Regions from separate parts of the Homo sapiens genome. Here regions 2 and 3 are each linked to region 1. Evidence: promoter capture Hi-C in human tissues and cell types (Jung and others, 2019). All regions are on one chromosome and are shown on one strand. Each heading gives the region's core, a stretch centred on a gene start or on the middle of the fragment in contact. The rest is flanking DNA. Distances are from core to core; before and after follow the strand shown.

Region 1 (4,051 bases), core at 1,404-3,903:
TCCATCTCTGGACTTTGTGATCTGCCCACTTCGGCCTCCCAAAGTGCTGGGATTACAGGCGTGAGCCACCGCGCCCGGCCGGGGAATGTTTTGTTTTTAAAATGAGCCCTTTTTTTTTTGAGATAGGGTTTCTCTCTGTCACCACGGCTGGAGTGCAGTGATGCAGTCTTGGCTCACTGCAGCCTTGACCTCCCTGGCTCAAACAATTCTCCCACACCAGCCTGCTGAGTGGCTGGGACCACAGGCGTATGCCACCATGCCTGGCTAAGTTTTTGTAATTTTAGTAGAGACGGGGTTTCACCGTGTTGCCCAGGCTGGTCTCGAATTCCTGAGCTTGAGCAATCCTCTCACTTCTGCCTCCCGAAGTGCTGGGATTACAGGTGTGAGCCACCAAGCCCGGCCTAAAAATGAGATGTTATACATTTACTTCAGACCCCAGATTCTACAATCCACAGGCAAGATAAGTGGCATCAGGGGAGGACAGCAGAAAACTGTTAAGTGCGCCTTGTGGAACCCAGCGGTTACAGTTTCAAGTCCACAGCCCAGTAAAGTCTGAGACCCCAAGGGAGGGAATGAGAGGGAAAGTGGGTGCCTGCGTCTGGGTCCCTCAACCTGCCTGCCTATGTAAGGACCCAGTGGGGCACAGGACAGGAGATCTGGGGCACCAGTATTTGCCTTCAGCGTCAGACGATCTACACAGGACAGGAGGCAGGTGGGAGGACTGAAGGAAACAGCCTCTGAAACGGTCAGTCTGGAGGCAGCAGGCGTGTGGGCCTCAGGGGTTCCCTCCAGGAAGGCCGAGGGAACAGAACCGCAGGGGCAGAGCACAGGTGTAGCAGAGAAGGGCTCAGTGCCAGTTCCTTTGAGAGACGGTCAGGGAGCGGACAGAGGGGGCCCATAGCCGACTAGGGGCGGCTTGGTCATGGGCTCCTCTTTCCTCAGTGGGCTGAGGGGTTAGGTCCTTTGAGGAGCGCTGAGGAGACTGTGGTAAGGGGAAGCGCCCTCCATCCCAGAGGCTTTCCTGGAACAAGTGGGTTGGAAGGACCAGGTGTTTGGGAGCTGCTGGGAGCAGGTGCAGAAGCCAAGGCATTCCCAGATGGGGGAGACTGGGGGTGGCAAGGTGGCTTTTCAGGGATCCAGCCTGCATGCCACCTATGCAGCCATGCTCCGGGGGCGACATCCGCCTGTGTCCTTCAGCTCTTCCTCAGCCTCCACCCGCCACCCGGGAGTCAGTGCCTGGACTGGAGCTCTAGCTGGAGGGCGTCTAGGAAAGGTCCCAAGGGGTGCGCAGGATGACCTGGTGTCTCTCCAGAGTCACCCCTGCTAAAATACTATGTGGCCAGCCCCAAGTCAGTTGCAGGTCATGGTGTTGGGATCTTCCACAAGGCCTCCTGGAGTCGCGCTGGGGGAGGGTGGGGTACTCAGTCTGTCGCAGAGCCCCAGGCCATCCGTCGCCAAGAGGAGCACTCCAGCGCTTCCCTCCTAATGCGTTCTTATCTTGCCGGGAGGAGAACTGGGCCAGCCTTACTCACCCAATCTATGCATGAGGCTTCCCCAACGCGCCAGAAGCCCTTCCTTCGCAGAGGTGGGCTTGCCCCGGCCTGTCCCCGTTCCTCTACCATGGTTAGGGCACAGTGGCCGAGGACTCCGTCCCAGCGCGGCTGAGCCGGAAAGCGATGGCGGCCGGAGGGGTCGGGAGGTTGGTTAGCGCTTTACGGAGCTGCGTGTTCCGTTTCCAAGGGCTGTAGAGCCTTCTACTGGGAGCCACCGTGGATCAGGCCAGGGGTTCGTCAGCTGCATTTGCCGGATCGCATCGCAGCACGCGCACCCACACGCGCACACGCCCTACTCGCAGGAGACTAAGCGCCCCGAAAAGGCGCGTCCCCGGGCGGGTCGCAGCCGGTCCAGGAAAGGGGACAGGGCGCAAGGGCCATTTGGGGAAGGAAAAAGGGGGCGAACCATGACCTTGACCTCATAGAAGGCCGAGGACGTGAAGAGGCTGGCAGATAAGTTGGCGAGGCTCGCAGCGAAAACCCAAAGCAGCCGAGCTCGGAGAGCGCCGTCTCAGCGGGCGAGGGCGTAGCCCGGGGAATGCACGGAGGTCCGTCTAGTCAGTCGGGGCGCGCTTCCTGGAGGAGGAGGAGAAGGACTTGCGGCCGGAGCTACCGGGATAAATGCAGGAGGCGGGGCAGCCAGCGGGCGTGGCCCTGCGGAGGTCCCCGGTCGAAAGGAGGAGACAGGGGCCGGCCGCGTACTTAAAGCGGACGCGGGGGAAGCCCTCCCGGGGTCTGCCTCAGTCGCACAGCTCGGTGGGCTCGTGGCGCAGTCGAACGTTTTCCCAGAAGCTCCCCGGCCCCGTCCAGCCCCTAAACTCGCGACGCTGGGTCTGCTGGGTCCGGCGCGCACAGGCTCGAAGGAGCCGGGTCTACTCGGTTTGGCCCAGCAGCTGCGGGCGGCGGGGAGCAGCCCAGCCCGGCTGGAGCAGCCTCCCGCGGGTGAGGGCGCGGGGCGGGCGGCCGGGTCCCAGCCCTCGGCAGCTCTGCCTACCGCGCCCGGGCGCGGCGTCTGAGCGGCATTAGGACCCAGGCGCGGCGTGGGGGTGTGTCGCCGGCTCCCGCCGCCGGCCCGCCCGAGTCGCCGAGTTTGGGGTCCAGAAGCGCCGGAGCGCCGCGTGAGGAGCCCGGCCGTGAGTGCGCGAGTGTGCCATGGCCGCGGCCACCAGGCGCGTGTTCCATCTGCAGCCGTGCGGTGGGTGCCTGAACCCGGGGGCGCGGCGGGAAGGCCGCCCGGGTCTCCGCCACCGTCTCCCGTCGGGGACCCCGGGGAGAACGCGGATGCCGTCTGCCTGCGCGGGCCGGGGCCGGTGGGCGAGAGGGCTGCGGGATTCCCAGCCGCGGGGAGGAGGGCGCGGGTGCGGGAGGCCCGGGCGCGGCTTCGCGGCCACCGCGCGCTTGGTTTCATTAGGGCTCTGCTGTCGCCGTCTTGAATTTCTTACCAGGTTTGAACAGCTGATGCAGCGGGTCGAGGGCGGGGAGCTCGAAAGTGGGCAGGGCGGAGCTGTGGGGCTCCCAGCGCCCCGAGCGCCGAGCTTTTGGGAGCCTGGCGGGCCGCCGCCTCGGAAGGTCTCATTTTACCTTCCGCCCGGGCATCTTCCCGTCCGGCGCCGCGGTGGGAGCCCCGGAACCCCTGGAGTTTTGGGAGTCCCGGGACCCCTGACCGTGCCCTGCGCGGCCGCAGCGGTTTCTCCCTTGCTCTGACACGGGAGGGCCAGCCCTGGGTCCCCGCCAGGACCCAGGTTTGTACGACCCTTTACCTGCACGTGGGCCGCCGGGACGGAAGCGGAGTGTGCACCGGCCCAACCCTCCCAGACCCTCGTCGCCCACGGCCTGGGACGCGCCCCAGCGCCCCCGCCCCCCACTTCAGGATGCAGCCCCGGCTCCCGCCCCGCGCCTGCATTCACATCCTGCGCCCCGACCCCCGGGGTCTCCGAGTCTGGAGGCGCTTTCCTCTCGTGCACGCGGCCCCTCCTGTCGCTTCCTTCCTCCGACAGCGAGGCACAAACAGCCGGGACCATCCGGGGACCGGCCCAGGGAGGGCGCAGCCTCCCCCGACCCATGTGTCCCTCAGATACTCCTCCCACCCCCAATTGTTCTCCCTTTTGGACCAACGGCTCTGGCTTCCAGGCGGCCGGGACGCGGTCCCAGGACTGGAGACCGTTGCCTGTCGGCCCCCGTGTGACCCGGGGCGCGTGACGGGGGTCGGGGGAACTGCGCCTGCAATGGGCGTTTATGGCCCCCAGGACCGGTCTGAGAGTGAGAAGAGGGATGTGCAGAGAGATCCCCCGCCTTGGCATCCGAGGAGAGAGGGGGAGAGGCCCGCTCGGGCCCGGTCCCTTCCTCTCGCTGCAGCGGGGCAGGGTTTTCTCAGGAAAACCTGGATTAGCGAACATGGTACTGGTACTAACTCGGTGGGAAGACATCCCTGGAACGTCTCTCCTCCTCGCCTCTGGCCCGCCTGGGCAGCCCCTAGCAGATGGGCTAAGCAATTGAAT
Region 2 (3,605 bases), core at 877-3,376, 130 kb before region 1:
ATATAGATAATTTTTTCTTCCTGGGAAGCAGTACAGGGAAGTTCCTCTGCTAGGGCGTTTTCTGCCTCTAACTTCCTCCTTCTTACTCTCCCACTGCTGGAACTGTGATCTGGTAATGTAAATTTACATCAATCAGCTCCACAAGGGGAGGATCCTAATAGCAAACCTCTAAATAATGAGTAACCAGTGAGCATTCATTCATCTGTTTATGGACAAATAGATCTTCATATTGAAAGATAGAATAAGAATTAGGAAAAGGGTCAACAAAATGTAAGAAAGAGACCACAACATATTAGATGCAGGGATAGATCAGCATGCTTTAAAAAAAGATTTTCTGCCGGGCGCGGTGGCTCACACCTGTAATCCCAGCACTTTGGGAGGCCGAGGCGGGCGGATCACGAGGTCAGCAGATCGAGACCATCCTGGGTAACACGGTGAAACCCCGTCTCTACTAAAAATACAAAAAATTAGCCGGGCGTGGTGGCAGGCGCCTGTAGTCCCAGCTACTCGGGAGGCTGAGGCAGGAGAATGGCGGGAACCCGGGAGGCGGAGCTTGCAGTGAGCCGAGATAGCGCCACTGCACTCCAGCCTGGGCCACAGAGCGAGACTCCAGTCTCAAAAAAAAAAAAAAAAAAAAAAAAAAAGATTTTCTTCAAGGAACAAAAATAATTGAGAAAATTTCTCTTTTTGGTACTTTTTAGGAACAGAATTTATAAAAAGAGAAATGAGATCTAGCAATGAGGTGAGCAATCAAAATTAAAAAGGGAGATGGAAGACATATAAGAAAAGATTGTAGGAAGTCTCAAAATTTATTAGTAGAATGAAAACTTACATTAAAAAAAGATATAAAAAATCTAATCAGTTGACACACTTGAAAAGCTTTTCCAGAATACAGAGGAAGGGGCCAAGTAGATTAAAGCAATGGGAAGGAAGATGATGAAGTGGAGAATAGAGAATGGAAATTGGTGATATTGAAAGGAAAGAATTAAATTAAAGGTTGTTATGTAATAGTCTGTACCTCCCTCTACCGCTCTCCTCTCCCCTCAAGTGACAGTCAACCAGGCATTTGCAGATGCCACCTCCACCCTAGGAAAAACAAAGAAGAGATTTGGGTGGAGGTTTTGTAAAAAAACTGAAAAGGGCCTGGTGAGTGGCTCACACTTGTAATCAAGCCTAGCACTTTGGGAGGCCAAGGCGGGAGGATCGCGTGAAGCCAGGAGTTCAAGACCAGCCTGGCAACAAAAAAATTTTAAAAAAATTAGTCGGGCACGGCTGGGCGCGGTGGCTCAAGCCTGTAATCTGAGCACTTTAGGAGGCTGAGGCGGGTGGATCATGAGGTCAAGAGATCGGGACCGTCCTGGCCAACATGGTGAAACCCCGTCTCTACTAAAAATACAAAAATTAGCTGGGCATGGTGGCAGGCACCTGTCATCCCAGCTACTCAGGAGGCTGAGGCAGGAGAATCACTTGAACCTGGGAGGTGGAGGCTGCAGTGAGCCAAGATCATGCCACTGCACTCCAGCTGGACGACAGTGTGAGACTCCATCTCAAAAAAAAAAAAATTAGCGAGGCACAGTGGCATGTACCTACAGTCCCACCTACTTGGGAGGCTGAGGCCGGAGGATAGCTTGAGCCCTGGAGCTCCAGGCTGCAGTGGGCTGATTGAACCACTGCACTCCAGCCTGAGCAACAGAGTGAGACACTGTCTCAAAATAAATAAATAAAAATGAAATAAATAAACTGAAAGGCAAGACAAAACCAAGAGATTTCATTGGCTAGTGTAGTTTTTGCTTCCTGAGAGTAAACCTGTTCACATTTTGGCATGTAGAATATAAGGGGATGGAGACCCAGTAATAGAAGCTCTGCATAACAGTTATCAGGAATATACACCTTCCAGTTAGCCTTTTCATTGCCTCATTTCAAAGTATGAATAGGAAGCCAAAGATCACCAGACATTTGATTAAACAGCAGTAACTCAAAAGAAAAAGATCAATTTTTTTTTTTAAAAGAAGACCAGTTCATTAAGACCCAAAGATAATTTAAGGTATAGAAGAAAACTTGACATAAAACTCTTTTTGGATGCCCAGAAAAATGTAAGATTTGTCAACCATAGGACAAGTGAATGTTGTAATAACTGAATGTATGGAAAATACGAGCTCTAGGAAATCATAATTGATAAAATCAATAGAGGGGTGGAAGGTAAAGTTAGGAAACTCCTTAGAAAGGTAAAATAAAAACATCACGGAGATAGAAAATATTGATAAAAAAGTTAAAAGACTTTAACCTTTAAAGTTAACTTTAGGCCGGGCTTGGTGGCTCACACCTGTAATCCCAGCACTTTGGGAGGCTGAGGCAGGCAGATCACTTGAGGTCAGGAGTTCAAGACCAGCTCGGTCAACACAGCGAGACCCCCGTCTCTACTAAAAATAGAAAAGTAGCCGGGTGTGGTGGCACACGCCTGTAGTCCCAGCTACCTGGGAGGCTGAGGCAGGAGAATTGCTTAAACCCAGGAAGTGGGGGTTGCAGTGAGCTGAGATCGCACCACTACACTCCAGCCTGGGCGAAAGAGCGAGACTCCATCTGAAAAAAAAAAAAAAGTTAACTTTAAATGTTAGAAGACTGATCTAAGAAGTCTAATATCCAATGAGTAGAATTTCTGGAAAGAGGAGGCCACGATACCATAAGGGAAGAAATCTTTTTAAAACATAAACATTCCCAATCATAAAGAGAAATAAAAGGTTTTAAATTAAATCACTTAAGTATGAATGGGAAGAGGAAAAAAAACCCTTAAATCTGTCCGTGACATTTCAGACACTAAGGATAAAAGAATATCCTTTTTTTTTTTTTTGAGACAGAGTTTTACTCTCCTTGCCCAGGCTGGAGTGCAATGGCACGATCTTGGCTCACTGCGACCTCTGCCTCCCAGGTGCAAACGATTCTCCTGCCACAACCTCCCGAGAAGCTGGGATTACAGGCATGCTCCACCATGCCTGGCTAATTTTGTATTTTTAGAGAAATGGGGTTCACCTTGTTGGCCAGGGTGGTCCCAAACTCCTGACCTCAGGTGATCTGCCTTCTCGGCTTCTGAAAGCTGGGATTACAGGCGTGAGCCACCTGCACCCAGCCTGGATGAAAGAATATCTTTAAAAGCTTCCAGGATGGCCGGGCGCAGTGGCTCATGCCTGTAATCCCAGCACTTTGGGAGGCCGAGGCGGAGGGATCACGAGGTCAGGAGATCGAGACCATCCTGGCTAACACGGTGAAACCCTGTCTCTACTTAAAAAAAAAAATACAAAAATTAGCCGGGCTTGGTGGCGGGCACCTGTAGTCCCAGCTACTCGGGAGGCTGAGGCAGGAGAATGGCGTGAACCTGGGTGGCGGAGCTTTCAGTGAGCTGAGATCATGCCACTGCACTCCAGCCTGGGCGAAAGAGCAAGACTCTGTCTCAAAAAAAAAAAAAAAGCTTCCAGGAAGTTGGTCAGTAAGTTTGGCCAAAAAAGAAAAAAAAAGGCTTCCAGGAAGAAAAAACAAGTCACCCACCACAAAACAACAAAAACTGGTTCCCAAACCAACAAAAGCCCCCCAAAACAAAAACACAAACTAGG
Region 3 (3,516 bases), core at 229-2,728, 150 kb after region 1:
CTTGGAACACGGAGCTAGGGTTGAGCGTCTCTAGATGCGAGTCTACAGGTCTTGCTGCCGTACAGGTTTTCCATATAGAAACGAGTTTGTCAAAAATATTTTTCTTCGTTTATTTTGCCTTTTACTTAGGTTATTTTTGCAAGTTAAAGAATTTTTATTGTCTTTTCATTTCTGATTTCTTTTAAAAGTTTAATGTAACCCCCCTCTAGAGATACGATAAATATTCAGACCTGGCTTCCCGCATCCCCTCCCCGCCGCTCCCCGGCCCTCGTCAGCTGATTTTTTTTTGAGACGGAGTCTCACTCTGTCGCCCAGGCTGGAGTGCAGTGGCGCGATCTTGGCTTACTGCAACCTCCGCCTCCTGGGTTCAAGTGATTCTCCTGCCTCAGCCTCCCAAGCAGCTAAGACTGCAGGCGCGCACCACCATGCCCAGCTCATTTTTTTTTGTATTTTTGGTAGAGACGGGGTTTCACCATGTTGGCCAGGATGGTCTTGAACTCCTGACCTCGTGATCTGCCCGCCTCGGCCTCCCAAAGTGTTGGGATTACAGGCATGAGCCACCGCGCCCAGCTTGTCGGCTGATTTTATTCTATTTAGCTCTTCAATCCAGCTGAGATGTGCCTTGGTCTGGAAAGAGCAGAAGGCCTCCCCCGCCCTTTTTTACTTGGTCCTGCAGTGGATCCATTTCAGTTCCATACCTGTCCCCTCAGGCTCAGCATTTTTCTCAGAGGTTTCTCATCCCTGCTCAATGTATCCTCTTTGATTCAATTCAGTAAGCAGGTCTTGGGCTCCCACAACATCTTTTGTTTGCTCTTGTTCCCCTCTTCATAGTTTACAGAGCATTTGTGTGGGTCCTCAAAAATACTACTGGAGGCTGGCGCCGTGGCTCACACCGGTAATCCCAGCACTTTGGGAGGCAGAGGTAGGCGGATCACTTGAGGTCAGGAGTTCGAGACCAGCCTGGCCAACATGGTGAAAGCCCATTTCTACAAAAAATACAAAAATTAGCCAGGCATGGTGGTGAGCATCTGTAATCCCAGCTACTAGGGAGGCTGAGGCACGAGAATTGCTTGAACCCGGGAGGCGGAGGTTGCAGTGAGCCAACAGGTGAAAAGAGAGAAAGCTGGACTTACTGCTACCAGCAGTGTTCTTTTGAAAATGAAGCCAGCTAGGCACGGTGGCTCATGCCTGTAATCCCGGCACTTTGGGAGGTCAAGGTGGGCACATCATTTGGGCTCGGGAGTTTGAGACCAGCCTGGGGAAAATGGTGAAATCCTGTCTGCACAAAAACAAAGATTAGCTGGGCATGGTGCTGTGGTTCCAGCCACTCGGGAGGCTGAGGTGGGAGGATCACTCTTAAGCCCAGGAGGTAGAGTTTGCAGTGAGCCATGATCGCACCACTGCACTCCAGCCTGGGCGACAGAGCGAGACACTGTCTCAAAAAAAAAAAAAAAAAAAAAGAAAAAGAAAAAAAGAAAAGAAAAGAAAAAGAACATGAAGCCAATGGCCAGGCACAGTGGCTCACGCCTGTAATTGCAGCACTTTGGGAAGCCAAGGTGGGAGGATTACTTGGGACCAGGGGTTTGAGACTAGCTTGGGCAACACAGTGAGACCCTCATCTCTACAAAAAAAAAAAAAAAAAAAAAAAAAATTAAAAAGGAAAAAAGATAGAAAGAAAATGAGGCCATGCCCTCTCTGGCAGTAGTGGAGATGTTCTATGGTATATACAGCAGGGGAATAAGAAACAGAAGGTGTGGGCAGGGCAGATGCTCTGCTAAGATTAGTTAACTGTTACTTCTTCTCAGAAAAGGTGGTCTAAGGGTAAGGAAGTACTTTATAGAACATTCTGACATTTGGGGTTTCATCTGGAGGCTTGCCACGTTTTATTATGTAAGGATTGCAGAAATCTTAACCCTTTATGGCACCCTCATCTGATTCCCTTAAGACCTCAGTGGGACAGGAAGTGGGGTTAGTACTTCAAGTAAATAACCTTGGGAACAGGTGTGACTTGCCCTGGGTCACACAGAACTCCCTGGAGAGCTGAAGCTGGTACCCAGAGCTTCCCTTCCTTCTTTCCATAATTTATTGAACACCCTCTACCTGGAGTGGGGTTACCGTACTGAGCATGAAAGGTAGAGTCCTTCCTTTCTGCCCTGGTGTTTCATTTTAAAGGGGTTATAGGCATACACACACAAAAAGATAGACACACAAAAAATGAATTGTGAATTGCAGTAGGTGCTATGAAATTCATCAACATAGTCCCAGACAGAAGATAACAGAGATGGGGGATGCTCTAGATAGGGCAGTCAGGGGAGCCTCCTCTTAAGAGATGCCATTTAAACCAATCAAATGAATCCTGGGGAGGGTGCGGGTAGAGGAATCTTCCAGGACACGGAAACAGCAGGATCTCAGATCCCAAAGCAGCAGTTGGAGTTGAGACTGATTTTAGAGGTAACATAAGCAACAGTGAGGGAAAGAGAAGACCCAGGGTGAGTCTCAGGTTCTGGGAGGAGCAGCTGGTTGGATGGTGGTAAGATCACACAGGTGGGAACCCTGGAAGAGCAGGGAAACAGCTGAGAATCTGGAGTTGCGTGTTGACTTTGTTAAGTTGGAGAAGCCTATTGGATATCCAATGTGAGGTGTCACTGGGCAGTTGAAACTATAAGTCTGGCTCTTTGGGGAGAGGCCCAGGATGGAAATACCAGTTTGGGAATTATTAGCTTGTAGTAAGTATATAAAATTGTGGGATCACCCAGGAAGAGAAGGGACACAGGACTGATTCCTGGGATGCTCCAACGTTTAGAAGTCAAGGTCAAAGAGAAGGAGCCAGAAACGGAGACAGAGAGAACACCCGGTGTAACAGAAGGAAAACCAAGAGAGTGTAGCATCGGTGGAACCAAACAAAGTGTGTTTCAGAAAAGGATAAGTGTGGCCGGGCGCGGTGGCTCACGCCTATAATCCCAGCCCTTTGGGAGTCCGAGGCAGGCAGATCATGAGGTCAGGAGATCGAGACCATCCTGGCTAACACGGTGAAACCCCGTCTCTACTAAAAATACAAAAAATTAGCCGGGCGCGGTGGCGGGCACCTGTAGTCCCAGCTACTCGGGAGGCTGAGGCAGGAGAATGGCATGAACCCAGGAGGCGGAGCTTGCAGTGAGCGGAGATCACACCACTGCACTCCAGCCTGGGCGACAGAGCAAGACTCCGTCTCAGAAAAAAAAAAAAAAAGAAAAGGATAAGTGTTCACCCATGTCAAATGCTGCTAGATCATGTGAAATAAGGACATAGACATCACCACCACATTTTTCGTTTTTTTTTTTTTTTTTTTTTTTTTGAGACGGAGTCTTGCTCTGTTGCCCAGGCTGGAGTGCAGTGGCACGATCTTGGCTCACTGCAACCTCCGCCTCCTGGGTTCAGGCGATTTTCCTGCCTCAGCCTCCCGAGTAGCTGGGATTACAGGCAGGTGCCACCACGCCCGGCTAATTTTTCTATTTTTAGTAGAGACGAGGTTTTACT

What was found. Contacts are between HindIII fragments. The study calls those that stand out against the background at their distance.
Region 2: a contact is called between a fragment that was not itself captured here and the fragment with the promoter of SLC4A11 in region 1, in 2 of the 25 tissues and cell types used here (dorsolateral prefrontal cortex and liver).
Region 3: a fragment that was not itself captured here is called in contact with the fragment with the promoter of SLC4A11 in region 1 in 2 of the 25 tissues and cell types used here (dorsolateral prefrontal cortex and spleen).

The regions. Positions count from the first base shown.
Region 1 is chr20:3,237,792-3,241,842 of GRCh38, reverse strand. It overlaps SLC4A11 (solute carrier family 4 member 11), which reads left to right and starts at 2,653. Exons shown (of 20, transcript NM_001174089.2): 1 at 2,653-2,748. The coding sequence starts at 2,706. RefSeq lists silencers at 2,404-2,563, 2,664-2,843. The HindIII fragment of the contact is 33,876 bases long and covers 1-4,051 here.
Region 2 is chr20:3,368,373-3,371,977 of GRCh38, reverse strand. The region is part of intron 6 of DNAAF9 (dynein axonemal assembly factor 9); the gene reads left to right. Among named protein-coding and RNA genes, the nearest start is that of DNAAF9, 37 kb to the left of the region's middle. The HindIII fragment of the contact is 4,428 bases long and covers 1-3,605 here.
Region 3 is chr20:3,089,102-3,092,617 of GRCh38, reverse strand. No RefSeq gene overlaps it. Among named protein-coding and RNA genes, the nearest start is that of AVP, 6.1 kb to the right of the region's middle. RefSeq lists an enhancer at 1-36. The HindIII fragment of the contact is 7,931 bases long and covers 1-3,516 here.